Regions from separate parts of the Homo sapiens genome. Here all the other regions are linked to region 3. Evidence: promoter capture Hi-C in 16 types of primary human blood cells and fetal thymus (Javierre and others, 2016). All regions are on one chromosome and are shown on one strand. The core of a region is centred on a gene start or on the middle of the fragment in contact, and the rest is flanking DNA. Distances in the headings are between cores, read along the strand shown.

Region 1 (2,838 bases), core at 189-2,688, 520 kb before region 3:
AGTCTTACCTAAATGTATATATGCTTTGGTATCAGACTAGCTTTATAATCACTGGTAAAATAGGGATAATAAATAAAGCCTACCCAACGCAAATAAAACCATATGAGGGAAATAATTTTGTAAAACACCATAAAAATGTCGTGATATTGCGGGACTAGATCTCAGCAAACCCTTTAAATCTTCAAATTAACTTTGAATGATTACTTGATGGTGGCAGGTAACACATACAAAATAAGCAGCCATGGGCTCATGTTCATCAAATAGGAATGAAAAACCATGCCATCTAACAAAAAAGCTTCTAATATTGCAAAGAATAACGGTTTGAGCCCGGAGATCCACGTCAGCCACTCTCTCTGATGGTGCCAAGCTCTAGTCCAGGGACACCAAGTTCAGTCAAAGAACTCAACAGTCTAGTGGAAGAGACAGACAGTGCTGTCTGTCAGAAAAGACAGAGAAGTCAGAGAAGATGCATATATGAACTAAGTGTCCTGAGGGATGAGTATCTTGCCAGTTAGAGAAGGGAGAGTCCATTGGGAAAAGGCAGAGTCCTAAAAGACATGGTATATCCATGGAATGTTAACATGAGAAGTTCAGTGAAGCTGGAGAGGAGAGAAATGGCCAGGGGAGAGGGAGATGAGATGGTTAACAGCAACATGTAGGAAAGAATCCAACTGTGAAAGCTTTTAGAAGTCAAGCTAAGTGGAAAACAGGGAACAAATGGCACCTTAAATGAAAAGATTAGATGTGGACTTTAAAAAGATAACTTGGGCAACAATATGGAGAAGATAGGAGCAAGGAAAGACTTATGGAGGAGTGGCCATTTGATAAGGGTCTGAACTAGGAGTTACAAACTCAAATTCCTAGAGGCAATGCAGGTAAAATGCTAAGTCTTCAGTGTGTAAGATGTCAGAAAATGGTGGTATCCGTAATCTTTGAAGAGTACAGGCCTTCTCTCTGATGGTGCCTAAAAGTATTCACACACAAAATTTTAAGCCCTTAGGCTGACTGATTGATTTTTGGGATGGAGTCTTCTTCTGTGCCTAGGCTGGAGTTCAGTGGCACAATCTCAGCTCATTGAAACCTCCACCTCCTGGGTGCAAGCAATTCTCTTTTCTCAGCCTGCTGGGTAGCTGGTACCACAGGCACTGGCCACCATGCGTGGCGTGCCTTTTTTTTTTTTTTTAAATACAGACAGGGTTTCACCATGTTGGCCAGGATGGTCTCAAACTCTTTTTTTTTTTTGATATGGAGTCTCACTGTTGCTCAGGCTGGAGTGCAGTGGTGTGATCCTCGCTCACTGCAACCTCCACCTCCTGGGTTCAAGTGATTCTCCTGCTTCAGCATCCTGAGTAACTGGGATTATAGGCACGTGCCACCACGCCCAGCTAATTTTTTGTTTTTAGTAGAGATGGGGTTTCACCATGTTAGCCAGGCTGGTCTCAAACTCCTGACCTCAGGTGATCTGCCCACCTCGGCCTCCCAAAGTGCTGGGATTACAGGCGTGAGCCACCGTGCCCAGCCTGACTTTAAACGTCCAGTTTTGACCTCTGGTAAATTAAGGCAATGACAGTGGGAATGAAGAAAAGCCACACATCAAACAGTACTCCAACAAAATCAACAGGGTTTAGCACATTTAAAGATGTGAGCATAAAAAGAATGAACAAGGCCGGGCGCGGTGGCTCACACCTGTAAACCCAGCACTTTGGGAGGCCAAGGCAGGTGGACCATGAGGTCAAGAGATCGAGACCATCCTCGCCAACATGGTGAAACACTGTCTCTACTAAAAATACAAAAATTAGCTGGGCGTGGTGGCACGTACCTGTAGTCCCAGCAACTCAGGAGGCTAAGGCAGGAGAATCGCTTGAACCAGGAAGGCAGAGGTTGCAGTGAGCTAAGATCACACCACTGCACTGCAGCCTGGGTGACAGAGCAAGATTCCTCTCAGAAGAAAAAAAAAAGAGTTGATGAGAGGATCAGAGTTGAGAAAGTACAGTACAGGCTCTTGCTCATTCTACCCTTACTGAGAACCTACTATGTGCAACGTACCATGGATACAATTCTAGCAAAGCAGACCCTGATTCTCAATACATACTATGATTGGAGTAAATACCAGGTTCTCCTGAGTACTCAACCCTGGTAAGTAAGAAGAGGCTTCATGGAAGAGGTGACTTCTAGGCTGAAACCAGTTGGCCAGATTAAGCTTGGGGAAGGTGTGTAAAAGAACGCTTACATATGCTAAGGTCTGAGGTGAAAGAGAACGTGGGCAATTTGTTGGAATTATAAGGAGCAGAAACGTAATTTGGAGGGTGACGACTACCTAGAGATATCATAGTCTGATTAGGTGAAGGACTCAAAAGTTTGGCGATGAAAAGCAGGAGGGAGATAGAGTAGTAGCCTAGTAGAATTAGAGATGAGGGAGGTTCTTCCTATTAATTCAGAAAGGAATATGGGAACAAACTCACTGATAAGACAGTGTTCTCCACAACTCAATATTTAGTTATTAGGAAGGCAACCAAATGCCTTCACTTCTTTTCCTTTAACAATGGCTTAGTTTGACTAAAGTGTTTCTCACAAGATACACACAAAAAAACAAAATACAAGAGCAAATGACGGATAAAGCTGTAAACCTAACGTTTTACTTTTCTAAGATTTATATAATCAGTGATTTAATTGGACCTAACTCCACATCCAGAACTCAAATGAAAGAAAACTTCTGGCCGGGGGCCGTGGCTCATGCCTATAATTCCAGCACTTTGGGAGGCTGAGGAGGGTGGATCACCTGAGCTTGGGAGTTCGAAACCAGACTGACCAACACAGCAAAACCCTGTCTCTACTAAA
Region 2 (3,149 bases), core at 147-2,646, 540 kb before region 3:
GTAATAGCCTCAAGCTGGAAACAACTGAAGTGTCCATCAACGGTAGAATTATGATATGTTCACAGAACAATGAGAAAAAACAAACAACTGATACATGCAATAGTACAGATGAATCTTATGTTGAGCAAAAGCAGGAGGCATAAATGAATACATGGGAAATGATTCGTTTTACATAAAATTCAAAAACAGGCAAACTATGGTGTTCAAAATCAGGATAGTGGTCATCCTGTGAGGTAGGATTACAGATGGAAGGCAGCCCAAGGGGCTTCTGGTAACATTGTTTCTTACTCTGAATGCTGATTATGTAGATATGTTGACTTTGTAAAAATTCATCGAACTGTACACTTATAATTTATATACTTCTCTAGTTACATTTGAATTAAAAGTTTATATGAGTGTTGTGTTTTGTTTTGAGATAGGGTGTCTCACTCTGTTGCTCAGGCTGGAGTGCAGTGTTGCGACCATGGCTCACTGTAACCTGGACCTCCCAGGCTTACGTGATCCTCCTGCCACAGCATGCCGAGTAGCTGGGACTACAGGCGCGCACCACCACACCTAATTTTTTGTATTTTTTTGTCTAGATGGGGTTTCATCAAGTTGCCCAGGCTGATCTCGAACTCCTGGGCTCAAGCAATCCACCCGCCTCAGCCTCCCAAAGTGCTGGGATTACAGACATGGGCCCCTGCACCCAGCCCATATGACAGATTTTTTTCTTTTCTTTTTTTTGAGACGCAGTCTCGCTCTGTCGCCAGGCTGGAGTGCAGTGGCGCAACCTCGGCTCACTGCAACCTCCGCCTGCTGGGTTCAAGCGATTCTCACGCCTCAGCCTCCCGAGTAGCTGGGATTACAGGCACGTGCCATCACACCCAGCTAATTTTTGTATTTTTAGTAGAGACGGCGTTTCACCATGTTGGGCAGGATGGTCTTGATCTCCTAACGTCATGATCCGCCCACCTCGGCCTCCCAAAGTGCTGGGCTTATAGGCATGAGCCACAACGCCCAGCCAATGACAGATTTTTTAAAGCACCTAGTCAAATATTTGTAATTTGTAAAAAATAACAAAAAAATAAAAAATAAAACCCCATTTTGACCCCACATTCTCCCCCTCCCCAGTAAAGCTCTTTTTCTGTGATCTCCTCTAAATCAAATTTCTCCAAATATTTGACTCCACTTTTTTTTTTTGAAACGGAATTTCACTCTTGTTGCCCAGGCTGGAGTGCAATGGCACGATCTCAGTTCACTGCAACCTCTGCCTCCCGGGTTCAAGCAATTCTCCTGCCTCAGCCTCCCGAGTATCTGGGATTACAGGCATACAACTCCATGCCCAGCTAATTTTGTATTTTTAGTAGAGACGGCTTCTCCATGTCGGTCAGACTGGTCTCAAACACCCAACCACAGGTGATCTGCCCACCTCGGCCTCCCAAAGTGCTGGGATTACAGGCATGAGCCACCGCATCTGGCCGACTCCACTTTCTTAACCTCTAATTCACTCTTAAACCTTCTCCAATCTAGCTTGAGCCAACCACCATTCCTAATCTCTTCAAGGTCACCAAGGAATTCCAAGTGGCCAGATCTAATTGACACTTCTCTATCCTCATCTTAATCTCTCAGCAATGCTGGACACAAGCGACTCTCCCCCTCTAAACATCTCTTAGCTTCTAGCACTCTGCCCCCGTGGCTTTCCTCCTACCTCAAAGCCTTTTTGCTGCTTCTTACCCCTCCCTCTGTTCTTAAATGTTGTGAGTGTCCAGGCTGTCTTAGGCCTCCCTCTCCAACCACACCTCAGGTTGCTTTAAATACCTTTCTTGGCCGGGTGTGGTGGCTCACACCTGTAATCCCAGCACTTTGGGAGGCCAAGGCGGGCAGATCACTTGAGGTCGGGAGTTCAAGACCAGCCTGGCCAACATGGTGAAACCCCGTCTCTACTAAAAATATAAAAAATTAGCCAGGCATGGTGGCAGGCACCTATAGTCCCAGCCACTTGGGAGGCTGAGGTAGGAGAATCACTTGAACCTGGAAGGCAGAGGTTGCAGTGAGCTGAGATCATGCCACTGCACTCCAACCTGGGCGACAGAGCGAGACTCTCTCTCAAAAAAAAAAAAAGTAAAAAAAAAATAAAAAATACTTTTCTTAAATCAAAGATGCATAAATTCCTACCTTCATCTCCCCTGCTCCTGCTGGTGGGTTAAAACATCATCTTTCATATATTAATCACATTTCCCTCCTTAGGCCCTTTAGATTTGTTGTTTGTTCCTTCTGCCTGGATTGGTCTCCCTAGAACTTCCTATGCTTAGCTCCTTCTTGTCATCCAAACATCAGCTTTAATGTCTTTTTTTTTTTTTTTTTTTTTTTGGTGTGTGTGTGTGTGTGTGTGTGTGTGTGAGGGAGAGAGAGATAGGGTCTCTCTCCAAGCTGGAGTGCAGTGGCTTGATCATAGCTCACTGTAATCTCGAACTCCTGGGCTCTAAGGATCCTCCTGCGTCAGGCTCCCAAAGCTCTGGGATTACAGGTGTGAGCTACCACGACCAGCCTTTTAATGTCATTTTCTAATTTCACCATAACATTTGGTATTAGCTGATATTATTTGCTTATTTATTAACTGCTTTCCCTAACTAGAATAGAAACCCCATGAGGGCAGGGACTTTGTGCTCTACCGAATTTCCAGAGTCTAGAATGGCTTCTTGGGTAAAAGAACAGCCTCCTAACGGGTTTCCTAGCTTTAATTCTTGCCTCTATCCACCTATTTCTCCACAAGGCATCACCCACTGCCCTCCTCCCCTCAACACACACACTTAAAGCTCTTTAATGTTGCTTGTTCCTAGAAGTGATCTTCCTTGGATGGATTATCCAAGGCATCCACCCAATGAAAGAAATCATGTTAACTCTTTGTACATAAAAATGTTTAAAAACTCTTCAAAAAAAAGTTCTTTAATGGACTCCTATTGCATTTTAGAATAAAAATAATCACTTCTTACATGGTTAAAGACCCTGACCACTTCTCCAATTCATGCCGTGCTACTTTTCTCACTCGTTAACTTCAAGCCATAGTGGGCTGGTGTGTGAAGAACCGAAAGGTAGTGTGACCTTTCGGTTCTTCACACCGAGCTGGTGTGTGTAAATGGGGGAGGACTCCTCATGTCGGTGATACT
Region 3 (2,915 bases), core at 1-2,500:
GCTTCTCCAGCTTCACTTTCAGATAGGGAAGAAGAACCAGGAACATAATAGATTTCCAAAGCTGCTGCTTTGGGAGACCAGCACTAGCCAATCTCTGAGACTTGTGAGTGTCCCCCATTACAATTCTCTTTAAGCCGTAAAAGTTTTCAGAAAATGAGGCACTGGTTCTAGACAGATAATGTTGCTGGAGCAGAAGATCTAGCAGAGTAAAGATTTCATCAAACCACCTCCACAAGAAGCCATAGTGGGTGGGATTTGATTCTGCAAGAACCTAAAGCAAAATAAAGCAATAAGTGAAATTCATTCCATTACACAAGTTCTACACCTATTTACATTCCCCCTTTTCCTCTAAAGTCTACACAATTTGTTTTAAATAAGTCACTGTTGGACCCTGAAATGCTGGGTATTCAGTACAGGTCTCTACACATAACAGAGACTCAGTAACTCTTAAGTCATGGGATACAAGTTATTTGCAAATTGGCTATTTCAAACGCTAGGCTACCAAATAAGCACAAATTATTCGTTTGTTTTTTACCCAGTTGTCCCTAAAACCTTTCCAAGAATTAATACCTTACCTTGACCACATGCTGAAGAGCGGGTCTCACTGCTGTCATTAAACTGTCCTGTGCTACCACCTCAAAGATGGATGGCTGGTCATCGGCCACAGAAGCAGCTGTGAAGTGAGCCCCGTGCTCAGCCATAGTTTCCTGCGTGTACTGGCTTTCACTTTTCCCACAAACTCTCTCGTGAGCATGAACTTTTTCGGGAGGAAGAGTATCAGATGGGTGCTCAGTCTTAAAGGTAAACTTTCTGCATGATATCTGAAACTCGAAACTCAATCTTATGGGCAAAAATGAACTGGGAAAAAAAGACCTGGAGGCCGAGGGTAGTCTCAAGAAGGTTAAGAACAAAGTTAACTCGGACGTGGGTGGAAGTAGTATGTGGCGAGGGGGTAACTTGTCAAATGCTGCACGTCAGGGCAGAGCGTGACTGTGGGGGACAGGTATGGGGGAAGGAACGCAATCCTCTGGAGCTGCGAACCAGAAACGCCCCCTCCTCCCCAATCGTGAGAGCTCAAAAGCCAGCCGACTCTGAGGATTCAGTCGTGCCACTGTGAGCCCGGGACACAAGGGCTGACTCCAGCTGTTGGCTTTGAGTATCCCCGCCCGCGCCCGTCCTTGCTCGCTGACCCCAGGCGAGGCGCAAACAACCCACGACGCCACGTTTGAAGGGAGGTCTCCGCTTTATGACAGAAGCCGCACCCGGAAATGAAACCACCAGGACCTCTGGGATGCCTGGCGGAAGAGAGGCGCTCTAGTTCCGAATGCGGTCCGGAAACCAGAACTAGAGAACTCTATGACCCACCTGAGCTTCCGCTCCCGCCCCGCTGAAACAGAAGAGGGCCCTTGTGGGCTGGTTTTGGCTAGTTTGGTTTACTTTTCGTAGCTGGGTCTGCATGGTAGCCTCGCTGGAAAGCTACAGCTCTGAACCTCTCTCTGCGAGGTCTTTTTGACAAGCTGTTTGGGGCACCGCGCAGACGTCTGGCGCCGGGAGCCAGAGCTCGGGCCCGTTGCTGAGCCCTGTGTTCCTGCAGGCGATGAAGCTAGGGGCGGTGGGAGGAAGGGAATCTGGAGGTGGAAAGGACTTTGCTGTACGCGTGCGGCAGGGATGGTGGTTAATTTATATGTCTTAGCCTTCCAGAAATGATTTAAAGCGACATAGCAGGAGATAGGAGCCTTAGATTTATTGCCGCCAATTATAAGGAAAGATGATTGGATTGAGAAAGGTTCATGCTTGTTCCTCAGTACTTGAGACGGTTAATTTTCATCCAAGCTGGTAGTTTAACGTCTTCCAGGTTTTGGCTATATTCAAGCATAACTGCATGCACTTGCTATACTGGATGAAAATGGTCTCCATCCTTGAACACAGTTGTATATGTCACCACCAGCGATATGAATACAGTACTAACGCAGAGGGAGCTTTATGAATTGTAACTAGCATGCACTGGGGACACTTGACAGAAAGTTTCCTTTCATGCCGTTTTTATACCAAAATGAATGTGATTTACCTTAAGGTTTGTAAAGTGCTTTTATGTTATGTACAGCTTTGTCTCGCTGAAGTTGGCTGACACAGCCTTATTGAATTTGGATGAGAGTTCCACCTCTCCTCCCTTCCTCTGGGAAGTGCCACCTCTGGGCTAAATAGCTGGGAATAGAAGGTATTGTTTACTGCCCTAGAGGCCCTTATGTTATAAAAATAATTGGTTTGCATAATGAGAACCCTCAAAAACAAGGTTTGGATTTAGTTATTCCAATAGGAGAGAAAACCTTACAAATTGTCCTTAATTATAGTTATAAAAAGTGTTTTTTACTCTACCAAAAGACATTATATTGATATATGATTTTTACCTTACAGAGTTTTAAGACTAGACATAGTTTATCCATATGAAGCACCTGGATACATATTAGGTGCTTGTTTAATAGTAACTGTTATGTACAAGCTTTTCTTAAGTGAATAGCAAAAATACAAAGTTGAGAGGTAGCATCAACTAAATCAAGCAGGAAATTAAACATTTTTGTCACTTAGGGATCTTTGGTTACAAGCAACAGAAACAAACAGGCTAATTTAAACTAAAACGGAATTTATTAGAAGTGTATGGAGTAGCTCACAAAATAAGTAAAGCCAGCCCTGAAAGAACAGGAACTTAACAATACTATTGGGACTGCCTAACAGGAATTAGAAGTTCTTATCCAGGCAACGTTGTTGCAGTGAACGAGCTTCCACCAATTTCTGTTTGTGACTCTGCTCGTGATACAAATTTTGACTGACCTCTCTTGGTTCAAGTTCCCTCTCCACCCTGTCTTTCACTCTTAGCCAGGGGAAGGCAGGATGTCTTGATTGATAGTCCCATGGAA
Region 4 (2,790 bases), core at 76-2,575, 560 kb before region 3:
AACCAGGCTTGCCAAGAGCCTAGATGGACATCTGCCCTCTACTCGCTCTACATGCTCAGAACTCACACAAAGCTCCTACTCGTGCATCTGGTCTACTTTTATTTTTTATTTTTTTGAGATGGAGCCTCACTCTCTTGCCCAGGCTGGAGTGCAGTGGCATGATCTTGGCTCACTGCAACCTCTTTCTCATGGGTTCAAGCGATTCTCCTGCCTCGGCCTCCTGAGTACCTGGGGACTACAGGCACATGCCACCACTCCCGGCTAATTTTTTGTTTTTGGTGGAGATGGTGTTTCACCATGTTGCCTATGCTGGTCTTGAACTCCTGATCTCAAGTGATCCACCTGCCTCAGCCTCCCAGAGTGCTGGGATTACAGGCATAAGCCAACACACCCAGCCTGGTCTACTCTTAGGAAAAGGTATTCCACCAGTTTGCACAAACTGCCAAGTAGAAGGATACTGTATATGTGCAATATCCTTTTCTATTTTGAAGTCAGCATTAAAGTCAAGAAAGAATGAACTATCTAGCTGTTTCAGTCAGTCAGAGAATCTGGATAAAGTTCCCACGTGGAGTCATCTGTTCTGTTCCCCAGGTCCTGACGACTGGAGAGAAGACTCTTGAAACAATCCCAAAGGGAAAACAGACTCCATGTCAGTAGGCCTCAGTCTGTAATCGGGTGAAGAGTCAGTCAGATGACCCCTAACACTGATGAATTTGAGCTACTGGTAGAAGAGAGCCTGAAACCTGACTTCAACCACTCTTACCAAGCAAGGAATCAGTATGTTGCTCTGTAGGAACCAAATCAACTGGGGATGGGAGGAAAGGAGAAGATTCTGTGGTGAAATAATTTCAGGAAATGCTAAGTTCAAAACAGCCAAAACACATTTCTCTTCTGCAGGACTTCTCTGCCTTTAATATAAAAATCTACCATAAATCAGTAATGAAGATATGAGGTATTTTTCCCTAAACTCATTTAACCACAGACCCAGATATTTTCCTGGGCATCTCCTGAATGATACAGTGTAAAATGCTCTGGGAAATGAACAAAAGGAAGAGCCCAAGTGCAGATGGAACAGCTATCTTCTCCTGCCATGTATGTAGATTCACTTTCTACCTCCCAAATCTTCAGAACAAGCATTCTTATTCTAAGGTAAGAAAACTTACAAGGTGGTGGTGAGTAGGGAGGGGATAGCATATGGTGAGAAAGGCTATGGACTTAGACCATAAAATTTTCAGTTAAATTTTACCTTTCAGATAAAGGGGTGATGCTAATAATGTCTATTTCATAGGTTGCTCTAAGGAATAAATACATACATGCAATGCCTAATCTAGTTTTGACACTCAACCACAAATGACAGCTATTATTAGACGGTGCAAATATGTAAGGTGTCTCCTTCCATGGCTTAAGTGTGGAAATTGAGTCAGGTCAATACCATCATGCTTTGGAGTGACAGCAAACACTCCTGAGCTCTGTAAAGCTACCATGCAGATAGCCCCTCACCCAGGTGCTGGAGTCCTTTCTGATCCTTGTATAGCCGGGTCACTCTCTCCATCAGCTCCCACTTCTCACAGCAGCCCTTGTAGTTGACAAAGTTGCGAGCCAAGATCTCTTTCAGCTGCCGCACTGTCAGGCCTTCAATGTCCTCCAGGTCAGTCAGGTCAGACAGAGAGGCCCTTCGGCCTGGGACAAAGCTGTCCTCTGAGTCAATAGACTGCAATGACAAAGATGAGATCAGTGTGCTCAGCTCTTACCTCCCCAAGCTCTTTCTCCAAGGACCCCAAAGCAGTCACCACATCATAATTTTGGTGACTGACCTCATGAAGGGTAGGAACAGAGACAGGATGAGTACCTGGCATGGTGCTCTGCATTGCAAAATATACTAGAATCTCTTCCTGACCCACGATTCTGTGCTCAGGAGCAAACAGACACAGACCAACCAATCAGTGTGATATAGTACTAGATAGAAGTATAGTAGAAGGAGTGCTGGTTTGAGTCATATGACCCTAATTTTGAATCTTGACTCCTCTGCTGTTAATGCTAAATAATATCCAGCAAGTTGCTTACCACTCTGAGCCCGTTTGCCCCTCCATTAAGGGGAGAGAGCAGTCCTACCCCACAGGGGTCCTGTAGAGGTTAAATATGGCCGCACATGAAACCCAGCATGGTGCTGGCCCTTCTCCCCTGGAGACTTCTGCTTGCCCACAAGAGGCACATTTCCCTGGCAAGTACTCCTCTATACACAACCTTGGCCACAGCTCCCTGGTCTGTGCTCTGGACTGGCCCTGCCTGGCTAATTGTCTGACCTCCTTCCCTTGACAATGGCTACAGTGTGCTAGAAGCAAGGAAAGAACAAGACTTTAACAGCAGGACCACAAGCCTGCCCTCCGGCAGCTCTTAGAAAGTCAAGAGACTGGAAATACAATGGGCCATGAGGCTTCTCCGTCTCCACTGTGACCTCACAACTCCTTATAAATACACTGACCGCTTCACTAGTTAACCTGGAACACTAACACTAAACCCTACCCCAAAAATATAATTTCGGAAGCACTATCATCACACATTTATTCTCTCTCCACTCGACTCTGCTAAGAGGTTCCGAAGAACACCAGTGAAAGAGGAAAGGTGAAGACACAGACCCAAGCAGAGGCCCCACCTGGGTCTCATCCTCAGCAGGTACTCTGGCCACGCTCTCCAGGTAGACGGGTTCCTCTTGATCCTGAGACACATGGCCATTGGCCTGTGGGAAGAGAAAAGTAACATCACATCTAGAGATGTCCCAGAGATCTGCAT

What was found. Contacts are between HindIII fragments. The CHiCAGO score rates a contact against its expected background, and 5 or more counts as called.
Region 1: a contact is called between a fragment that was not itself captured here and the fragment with the promoter of PEX12 in region 3, in 5 of 17 cell types (non-activated CD4 T cells, activated CD4 T cells, total CD8 T cells and 2 more). The highest score is 7.9, in non-activated CD4 T cells.
Region 2: a contact is called between a fragment that was not itself captured here and the fragment with the promoter of PEX12 in region 3, in 1 of 17 cell types (total CD4 T cells). The highest score is 6.4, in total CD4 T cells.
Region 4: a contact is called between a fragment that was not itself captured here and the fragment with the promoter of PEX12 in region 3, in 4 of 17 cell types (activated CD4 T cells, total CD4 T cells, total CD8 T cells and 1 more). The highest score is 7.2, in activated CD4 T cells.

The regions. Positions count from the first base shown.
Region 1 is chr17:35,060,459-35,063,296 of GRCh38, forward strand. All of the region lies in intron 1 of RFFL (ring finger and FYVE like domain containing E3 ubiquitin protein ligase), which reads right to left. The region is part of intron 5 of RAD51L3-RFFL (RAD51L3-RFFL readthrough); the gene reads right to left. Among named protein-coding and RNA genes, the nearest start is that of RFFL, 1.8 kb to the right of the region's middle. RefSeq lists an enhancer at 2,800-2,838. The HindIII fragment of the contact is 1,520 bases long and covers 679-2,198 here.
Region 2 is chr17:35,038,513-35,041,661 of GRCh38, forward strand. The region is part of intron 1 of RFFL (ring finger and FYVE like domain containing E3 ubiquitin protein ligase); the gene reads right to left. All of the region lies in intron 5 of RAD51L3-RFFL (RAD51L3-RFFL readthrough), which reads right to left. Among named protein-coding and RNA genes, the nearest start is that of RFFL, 24 kb to the right of the region's middle. The HindIII fragment of the contact is 4,406 bases long and covers 1-3,149 here.
Region 3 is chr17:35,577,321-35,580,235 of GRCh38, forward strand. It overlaps PEX12 (peroxisomal biogenesis factor 12), which reads right to left and starts at 1,251. Exons shown (of 3, transcript NM_000286.3): 1 at 576-1,251; 2 at 1-271. The coding sequence starts at 701. RefSeq lists an enhancer at 515-1,330. The HindIII fragment of the contact is 3,440 bases long and covers 1-2,498 here.
Region 4 is chr17:35,014,870-35,017,659 of GRCh38, forward strand. RFFL (ring finger and FYVE like domain containing E3 ubiquitin protein ligase) reads right to left here. Exons shown (of 7, transcript NM_001017368.2): 4 at 2,654-2,737; 5 at 1,501-1,711. It overlaps RAD51L3-RFFL (RAD51L3-RFFL readthrough), which reads right to left. Exons shown (of 7, transcript NR_037714.1): 6 at 1,501-1,711. Among named protein-coding and RNA genes, the nearest start is that of LIG3, 36 kb to the left of the region's middle. The HindIII fragment of the contact is 6,276 bases long and covers 1-2,790 here.